Linked DNA regions of Homo sapiens: regions 2 and 3 are each linked to region 1. The links are contacts of gene promoters, found by promoter capture Hi-C in human tissues and cell types (Jung and others, 2019). All regions are on one chromosome and are shown on one strand. The core of a region is centred on a gene start or on the middle of the fragment in contact, and the rest is flanking DNA. Distances in the headings are between cores, read along the strand shown. Region 1 holds the start of RFPL2 (ret finger protein like 2). Region 2 overlaps SLC5A1 (solute carrier family 5 member 1). Region 3 has its middle 36 kb from the start of SLC5A4.

Region 1 (3,049 bases), core at 339-2,838:
CAATCTGCCACCCACCGCCGGCAGTGCAACCCCAGATAGCGCACCGAACTCACTCCCTGCTGGGCAGTGCAACCCCACATAGCATCCAACCCGCCTCCCCACCCAGCCACTGGCAGTCCGCCCCCGATAATGTCCCATACACGCTCCTGGCTGTGGGCAGTGCAGCCCATGGGTAGCGCCCCCAACCAGCCCCCAGCCATGGGGAGTGATGCCTCGGATAACACACCCAACAAGTTCCCCACCATGGCACTGATGTCCCAGGTAGCGCCCCCAATCCTTGCCCCTCAGCGACCAGTGCAGCCATGGATAGCGCCCTCAACAAGCCCCTCCACTGACCCCCGCCGCTGTGGGAAATGACGCCCGGGATAACGCACCCAACCCTCCCCCGCCATGAGCAATGCAACACGCACTACTGCTCCTTACACGCCCCCCACTACATGCGGTGTAGCCAACGATGGCGCCCCCATCTCCCCCTCGCCTCGGGCAGTGTAGCTCCCGATAGTGCATCCAACCCATTCCCTCTGCCCCTCTCCTCCCACCGAGTCAACCACCGCCGGCAGTCCAACCCCAAATAGCGCACCCAATCCACTCCCTGCCAGGCAGTGAAGCCCCCCGATAGCACCCAACCCGCACCCCCACCCCCGCCACTGGCAGTCCGCCCCGATAACGCCCCAACACGCTCCTGGCTGTAGGCAGTGTAGCCCATAGATAGAGCCCCCAACCAGCCCCCAGCCAAGGGCAGTGACGCCTCGGATATCACAGCCAACAAGTTCCCTGCCATGCGCACTGATGTCCCAGATAGCGCCCCCAACCCGTACCCCAGCGCGACCAGTGCAGCCACGGATAGCGCCCCCAGCAAGCCACCCCGCGGCTGCGGGAAATGACGTCCGGTAAAGCACCCAACCTTCCCGTGCTGTAGGCAGTGCAGCACCCAATACTGCCCCTAACACGCCTCCCACCACCGGGTTGTAGCCCACGATGGCGCCCTCAATCCGCCCCCGCTCCCACCTCGGGCAGTGCAGCTCCAGATCGTGCATCCAACCTGTCCCCCTCCCCGCCCCCTGCCGCAGGCAGTGAGCCCTGGATAGCTCATCCACCCCGCCACCTTTCTACATTCTGGCTGCGGTCTAGTCTCCCTCACCGCCACCAACGGCAGCGAGCCGAGCCATGCTGCTGCAGGCTTTCAAGCCTCCAGCGTGGGACAGGTGACTCCTCCTCTAACCTGGGCATGGAGCAGATGGGCTGGCAGACGCAGAAGTGCCTGGAATGGCAAGAACCCCTCCCCCCACAGACCGAGGTTATGCAAGTAAGGTTTCTGGACTACATGTTCAGATTGGATGAGAGAAAAACCTCTAGGTCTACTCTGATTGTGCTTTATTTTCACGTTCTGACTGGATGACAGCAAGTCTTAGGATAACCAATCAGAACAAGATAACAAAGCCCGATCAGAGTAGGCCTAGAGGTTTCTCTCATCCGATCAGACTATGTAGTCGAGAAACTTCATTTGCATTAAACTCAGTATATAAAGGATGCCAAGAGGGGTGGCTTGCCCTTCCAGGCTCATCTGCGTCGGCCTGCGTAGCTGCTCTGTGCCCGGCTTAGAGGAGAAGGAGGAGGAGCCACTTGCCGCGCATGCCAGAGGCTAGAGTCATCTACCGCGCATGCTGGAGGCTGGAGCCTACAGTGGCTCACCTCGCTGCTGCGGTTGGTGGCCGCGAGGGTGACTACAGCGCAGCCAGAATGGTGAAAAGGTGGCAGAATAGGTTCGTTATCCCAGGCCGTACTGCCTGTGGCGTGGGGGGCGGGTTGGGGGCCCTATCCAGGGCGTCACTGCCCGTGTTGGGGGGCTGCTTGAGTGTGGTACCTCGGGCGTCACTGCCCGCTGAGGGGAGTGGGGTGGGGGCGCTATCCGGGGGCGCTATCCAGCCTATGGCTGGAGATGGGTTGGGGCGCTATCCGAAGCTGTAATTCCTGCGGCAGTGGGGAGTTTTGGGGGCACTATCTGGGGATGCACTGCCCGCGGCCGGGGGGCGGGGGTGAGTTAGTAGAACTATCAGGTGCTGCAATGCCCTGATGCCCTTGTTGGGGACAGGTTGTGGGGGGCTGGTGGGTGCAACACTGCTGGTGGCGAGGGTGGGTGCTGCTATCCGGTGCTACTCTGCCTGTGGGGGACGGGGGCGGGCGTGATATCCAGGGCATCATTGCCTGCATCTGGGAGCTGGTTGGGGACACTATCCATGGCTGCACTGCCCACAGTGGGGAGCGGGTTGGGGGCACTATTTGGGGCTGCAATGCTGGTGGTGGGGGACGGGTTAGGGTCACTATAGGGTGCTACACTGCTGGCAGTGGGGAGGGGGTTGTTGAGGGCGCTCTCTGGGGGCTACACTGAGACAGGTAGCGGGGGGTTGTTGGGATTGGTACCGGGGCTGGACTGCCCATGGAGAGGGGGTGGGGGCGTTGGTTGGGGGCGCTATTGAGGGCCGGGTACACTGCCTGCGGTGGAGGGGTGGGTTGGGTGCTATCAGGGGTCTGTACTGCCTAGCAGGGAGCGGGTGGGTGTGCTATCTGGGGCTGCACTGGCTGCAGCAGGGGCAGGTTGGGTGCACTATAGGGGGCTACACTGCCCTTGGCAGGGGGTGGTTTAGGTGAGCTGTCTGTGGCCGCACTGCCCGAGGTGGGGAGTAAGTTTGGGTGCTATCTGTGGCTGCACTGCCTGGAGGCAGGAAGTGGGTTGAGGGTGCTATCCTGGGCTGCTTCTCCTGGTGGGGAGCAGGTAGGGGCACTATCCAGGGTTGCACTGCCCGGGGTAGGGGGCGATTTGGGTGCCATATCGGGGCATCACTGCCCACGGCAGGGGTCTGGTTGGGGTCGCTACCCATGGCTACACTGTCTACAGCCACTGCCTACGGCAGGGAGCGGGTTGGGGGCGCTATCCCGGGCTGCGCTGCCCAAGGCAGGGGGTGGGTTGCGGGTGCCATTGGTGCTGCAGTGTCCGAGGCAGGGGCGGGTTGGGGTTGCCATCTGGTGCTACACTGCCAGCTGTGGGGGA
Region 2 (3,049 bases), core at 223-2,722, 130 kb before region 1:
GAGAAGCATTCCATTCTGTAAAATTTCCCGGCATGTGCATCTTATGCAAATGTGCACAATCCCTGGAGATAAAGCCTCAGATTTTATGACTTACATGTGATGACTGAATGTTCATGTCCCCATTTGTGTTTCCTAGGGCTGTTATCACAGATCACAGCTACAGTAAATGTTTACAGCAATTCTGCTGTCCATTTTGGATCCTTGGGTGAAAAGAAGAGCTTTTGCTTTTGCTTAAGATTTGAATGCTCATTCCCAGGGCCACTCACTTTCACAAGTGGAAAGAGAAATTTGAGTAATGGGGCTTCACCATCTGAAACTGCGAGGCTAGGCAGGATTTATCGAATGCTCAAATACATCTTGGTTACGACCAGAATGGACAGCAAACACACACATATAAAATCACTGGATCTCAAAACATCAGAGCCAAGGCGAAGCAACATGCCCAAGCTCCCAATCAGAGACTCAGTTACTTGCAGATGCTTTCCAACGGGGGTCTGTATTTTTATTCCCCATGAATTCCATGGACATCGTTCAGCCAAATTTTCAACGTGATGGGAACAACACCCCTGGGCTAAATCCAACACACGATCTATTTTTGTAAGTAAAGTTTTACTGGAGCCCAGCCAAGCCCATTGTTTGTGTTGTCTGTGGCTGCTTTTATGCTTTAACAACAGAGTGTGACAGAGACAGTAAATGCAAAGCATAAAACATTTACTCCCGGGCCCTTTACAGAGAAAGTTTGCAAATTCTTGATCTAGAGGACCATAATTTTTTATTTCACTTCAAGTTGGTTTTGCTTAGCAGCATTGGAGAAATTTTCTTCTTTCCCTTCTGCCTCCCCTTTCCCTCTTTCCTTCCTTCTTTCCTTCCTTCCTTCCCTCCCTCCCTTCCTTCACTCCCTCCTTCTCTCCTTTCTTTCTCTCTCCCTCTGTTACCTTCCCTTTCTTTCCTTCCTTCCCTCCCCCTTCCTCTCTCCCCCTTTTTTCACTTTCTTCCTTTCCCCTTCTTCCTTCCTTTCGTTCTCTCTTTCCTTCTCTCCCTTCCCTTTCCTTTCCCTCCCTCCATCCTTCCCCCTACTCTCTTTTAAGGGCTAACATTAATTTAGGGAAAGAGCAATCTGGGATAAGCTGTGAAACAAATGGTCTCATAGGATGACAGGACAGTTCTTTTATATCAAAGCTGGTGCTGCATTCCCTATACAGTCCCCTATTTTTATGATAAAAAATTTAATGAAATACTTCAAATATACAGGAATGCAGAAAGAATATAGCAAACACCCTTATATTCACCACTCAGATTTTATAGATCTTAACAATATATTATTTGTAGAAAAGAAATAAAACATTACAGATATAGCCGAAGACCTATTTATACCCTTTTCTTGGTCTCATTTTCCTCTTTCCTAAAAGGTGAATGCTGTCTTGAACTTGGTGTGGATTCTTCTAGACTATGTTTTTATATTTTTACTACATATATATATGGGTACCCGTATAGCCATAAAGAATATATTCTGTTTTAAAATTTCTGCTTCCTGCACTTTTGAAACTGTAGGAAAAATGTAACATTGGCATTTAAAAATCTTGGGGTGGGAGATGCACACTTTAACTCCAATACCAATATTTTCATATTTTGGCCTTGCTCAAATTGTGTGTATTCTTTCACAAAGTTGCAATTAGAATATGCGCATCATTTTGTTGTCTTCTCCCCACCCCTACCATCAAATTGTAAATGTTCCAGTTTCAGTTTTCATAATTATTATTTTTAGGGGCTGCAGAACATAACTGTTGACATATAATTTTTAGAAAGCCATTTAAAAATCCTCTGGTGGACAAAAATCTCTTGACAGTGGTCACTTCTGGGCTACTTTTACTTTTCAGTGTGTAACTTCTGCGGTTATTTATTTATTCAATTTTTATTTGTTTTTCTTTTTTTTTGAGCAAAACTCTATCACCCAGGCTGGAGTACAGTGGCACAATCTCGGCTCACTGCAACCTCTGCCTCCCAGGTTCAAGCAATTCTCCTGCCTCGGCCTCCCAGTTAGCTGAGATTACAGGCATGCGCCACCACACCTGGCTAATTTTTGTATTTTTAGTAGAGACAGGGTTTTACCATGTTGGCCAGGCTGGTGTCTCAAACTCCTGACCTCAAGTGATCTGCTTGCCTCAGCCTCCCAAAGTGCTGGGATTACAGGCATAAGCCACTGTGCCTGGCCTGTGGTGTTTATTTTAACCCCCCACACATACATTATTTTATTTGAGATTTTATTTTAAAAGTAAATTAAAAACTTTTTCTTTGTTGCTAAAAAAGACCTTGCTGGCTGAGCATGGTGGCTCAGGCCTGTAATCCCAGTAGTTTGGGAGGCTGAGGTGGGTGGATCACAAGATCAGGAGATTGAGACCATTCTGGCCAACAGGGTGAAACCCTGTCTCTACTAAAATACAAAAAAAATTAGCCAGGCATGGTGGCACGCAACTGTAGTCCTAGCTACTCAGGAGGCTGAGGCAGGGGAATCACTTGAACCTGGGAGATGGAGGTTGCAGTGAGCCGAGATTGTGCCACTGCACTCCAGCCTGGCGAAAGAGCAAGACTCTGTCTCCAAAAAAAAAAAAAAAAAAAAAAAAAAAAAAGACCTTGCTCTCTGTAGAAAATATTCCAGAAAGCAGAAAGGAGGTCCCTTACTTTTCAATGTTGTTTTGAGGATCAAAATAACGCATGTGCCTAAATGTCCTTGGTAAACTGTAAAACTCTCTGAACATGAAGAAAAGAAAACAAACAAACAAACAAACAAAAAAAAACAACCCTAGTGGGTTTGTTTGGCAGCTAGGAAGGACCAAAGACTAATGTCAGAGCACCCAGACTAGAGTGGCCTTGCTCAGCTGGAGTCAGCTACATAAGCTTAGCTAAGGTATTCCCAGCCTGGCCTTTGGCATGCCAAGGCAGAATTCATCTCTGAAGTTAGAATGACTCATGCGAGGAAGAATTTGTCCTAGGTTTCTTCAATTCACCAGGGAGGTTTCCTTAGAATCCTTTATCTGTACTGTTAGAAGGA
Region 3 (3,049 bases), core at 203-2,702, 86 kb after region 1:
TCTTATTGTCTTTTAATTGGTATTTTTGCATCTAGGCTGATGAGTGAGACTTACTTTGTCAGGTTTTAGTATCAGGGTAATTCTAGTCTCAAAAATGAATTGAGGCCATTTTATGCTCTTTAATATTCATTTTCTATTGCTTTTCTATTCTCTGGAAGAGCTTGTGTATGATTGGCGTGGTTTCTAGAAGAGCTTATGATTGGCATGATCTCTTCCTTAAATGTTTGGTTGAATTTGTAGGGCCTGGGTTTTTCTTTTTTTCTTTTTACTTTTATTTTACTTTAAGTTCTGGGATGCATGTACAGAATGTGCAGGTTTGTGACATAAGTACACATGTGCCGTGGTGGTTTGCTGCACCTATCAACCCGTCATCTAGGTTTTAAGCCCTGCATGCATTAGGTGTTTGTCCTAATGCTCTCCCTCCCCTTGCCCCCATCCCCTGACAGGCCCCGGTGTGTGATGTTCCCCTCCCTGTGTCCATGTGTTCTCACTGTTCAACTCCCATTTATGAGGACATGTGGTGTTTTCTCTTCCTGTGTTAGTTTGTTTGCTGAGAACGATGGTTTCCAGCTTCATCCTTGTCCCTGGGGTTTTCTTAGTGGGAAAGATTTGGTTATGGATTCAATTGATTTTATTACTACAGGACTCTTTAAATTTCTATTTTTCTAATATCAGCTTTGAAAACTTGTACTTTTTATTTTATATTTTCAAATGCTTTGGATATGATTTTTTCATAACAATTTCCTTTTTAGTCCTTTTGGGTTGCTGTGACAAAATACCTCAGACTCGGTAACTTACAAACAATAGAAATTTATTTCTCACAGTTCTGAATACTGGGAAGTCCAAGATCAGGGAACTGGCAGATGTGGGGTGTGCAGAAGACTCGCTCTCTGCCTCCAAGATCGCAGCTTGTTGCTGTGTCCTCTGAGGATGAATGCTGTGTCTTCACATGATAGAAGAGATGGAAAGGCAAAAAGGCCCAGAAAGTCCCCTCCAGCCCTTTTATAATGTCACTAATCCCATTCATGAGGGTTCCATCCTCAGGACTTAATCGCTTCCTAAGGGCCCCAACTCTTAATACTATCACATTGGGTCTTAGGTTTCAAAATATTAATTTTGGGGGAAAACATACATTTGAACCATTTCAGCCTCTTTTTTATGCTTGCTGGATGTGTAGTGGTGTCTTCTTTTTAATTTCTGATATTGGAATTTGTCTTCTTTCATTTTCATCATATGAGTTTTGCCAGGGATTTATCAATTTTATTTTTTTAAAGAGCTAGCATTTGGCTTTGCTGATCCTCTCTGTGTTATGTTTATTTTCTTTTTCTTTAGTTGTGTATTTATCTTCATTGTTCTCTTTTTATATACTTTGTGTTTGACTGTTCTTTTTTTTTTTTTTTGAGATGGAGTCTTTCTCTGTTACCCAGGCTGCCACCCTCCGCCTCCCGGGTTCAAGCGATTCTCTTGCCTCAGCCTCCCGAGTAGCTGGGATTACAGGCGTGCGCCACCATGCCTGGCCAATTTTTTGTATTTTTATAGTAGAGACGGGGTTTCACCGTATTGGTCAGGCTGGTCTTGAACTCCTGACCTCGTGATCCACCCACCTTGGCCTCCCAAAGTGCTGGGATTACAGGCGTGAGGCACTGCGCCGGGGTCAACTGTTCTATTTTTAATTTGTGAGAAGTATGGCTGACATTAGTTTTCAGTCAAACTTGTGTATCAACTTGGGGAAAATTGACACATTTACTGTGTTGTCTTCCAACTCATGAACATGGTACGTCTCTTCATTAATTTAGATGTTCTTTGATTTCTTTACCAAGATAGGCTCTTAAGCTTGAATTTTCTTTTAAGCACTTATTTATCTGAATCACCTAAGTTTTAATATGTAACAATTCCCTTATACTCAAATGTATTCTACTTTTCATTATGATTTATTCCTTGACCTTAGCCTATTTATATTTCTTGTTTTCCCAATGTATGGAAATTTTTATATTTTATATATATGTGTGTGTGTATATATATGTATGTATATATATAATTTATTTTTCTTTTCTATCTTTTTTTTTTTGGAGATGGAGTCTCATTCTGTCACTCAGGCTGGAGTGCAATGGCACAATCTTGGCTCACTGCAACCTTTGCCTCCCGGGTTCAAGTGATTCTCGTGCCTCAGTCTCCTGAGAAGCTGAGATTACAGGTGTGCACCACTACGCCCGGCTATTTTTTTATATTTTTAGTAGAGACGGGGTTTTAGTATATATATATAACATATATACTAGATATTATATATAATATATAATACATATACTAGATATTATATATTATATTCTATATATTATATATATAATATATACTAGATATTATATATAATACATACTAGATATTATATAATATATATATTATATTCTATATATTATATATATAATATATACTAGATATTATATATAATACATACTAGATATTATATATAATATATACTAGATATTATATATATTTTTCTAATATATATGGTATATGGAACTATAGGAATTTTCTAATCTGTACACACATATTTTCTAATATGTACATACTAGATATATATTTGTTTTTTTCTAGTGTATGTGTGTGTGTGTATATGCTAGAAAATCCCCATATGTTTGGAAAACAGCATTCATCCCCAGAGAACACAGCAACAGGGTGCTATCTTAGAGGCAGAGAGTGAGTCTTCCCCAGACCCCACATCTGCCAGTGCCTTGATCTTGGACTTCCCAGACTTCAGGACTGTGAGAAATATGGTAGAAAATTCCTATATATATATATTTTATAGAATTCTATCTTAATGGCATTGTGGTCAAATAAAGTCCTCTGAAGTTCACTGATACTTGCTTAATTATACAGTATAACATAACTTTTTGTAAAAGTTCTGTGTCTGTATGAGGAAAATGTGTATTGGTATGTGTTGAATGCATTGTTCTAGATATCTCCACTAGGTAGATTTCTTAATCACATTCAGTTCTTCATATTCTTACTTATTTTTCATCTGATTGTTTGACCTGTTGTAGAGAGAGGTAGG

The links. The method cuts DNA at HindIII sites, captures the fragments that hold promoters and counts their contacts. A contact is called where the count stands out against the background at its distance.
Region 2: a fragment that was not itself captured here is called in contact with the fragment with the promoter of RFPL2 in region 1 in 2 of the 25 tissues and cell types used here (IMR-90 fibroblasts and spleen).
Region 3: a fragment that was not itself captured here is called in contact with the fragment with the promoter of RFPL2 in region 1 in 9 of the 25 tissues and cell types used here (IMR-90 fibroblasts, aorta, bladder and 6 more).

Annotation. Positions count from the first base shown.
Region 1 is chr22:32,203,485-32,206,533 of GRCh38, forward strand. It overlaps RFPL2 (ret finger protein like 2), which reads right to left and starts at 1,589. Exons shown (of 5, transcript NM_001394555.1): 1 at 1,223-1,589. SLC5A4-AS1 (SLC5A4 antisense RNA 1) reads left to right here and starts at 1,631. Exons shown (of 4, transcript NR_149072.1): 1 at 1,631-1,763. RefSeq lists an enhancer at 3,033-3,049. The HindIII fragment of the contact is 14,140 bases long and covers 1-3,049 here.
Region 2 is chr22:32,076,358-32,079,406 of GRCh38, forward strand. The region is part of intron 5 of SLC5A1 (solute carrier family 5 member 1); the gene reads left to right. Among named protein-coding and RNA genes, the nearest start is that of SLC5A1, 35 kb to the left of the region's middle. The HindIII fragment of the contact is 5,368 bases long and covers 1-3,049 here.
Region 3 is chr22:32,289,822-32,292,870 of GRCh38, forward strand. It overlaps a transcript of SLC5A4 not described here. Among named protein-coding and RNA genes, the nearest start is that of SLC5A4, 36 kb to the left of the region's middle. The HindIII fragment of the contact is 6,132 bases long and covers 1-3,049 here.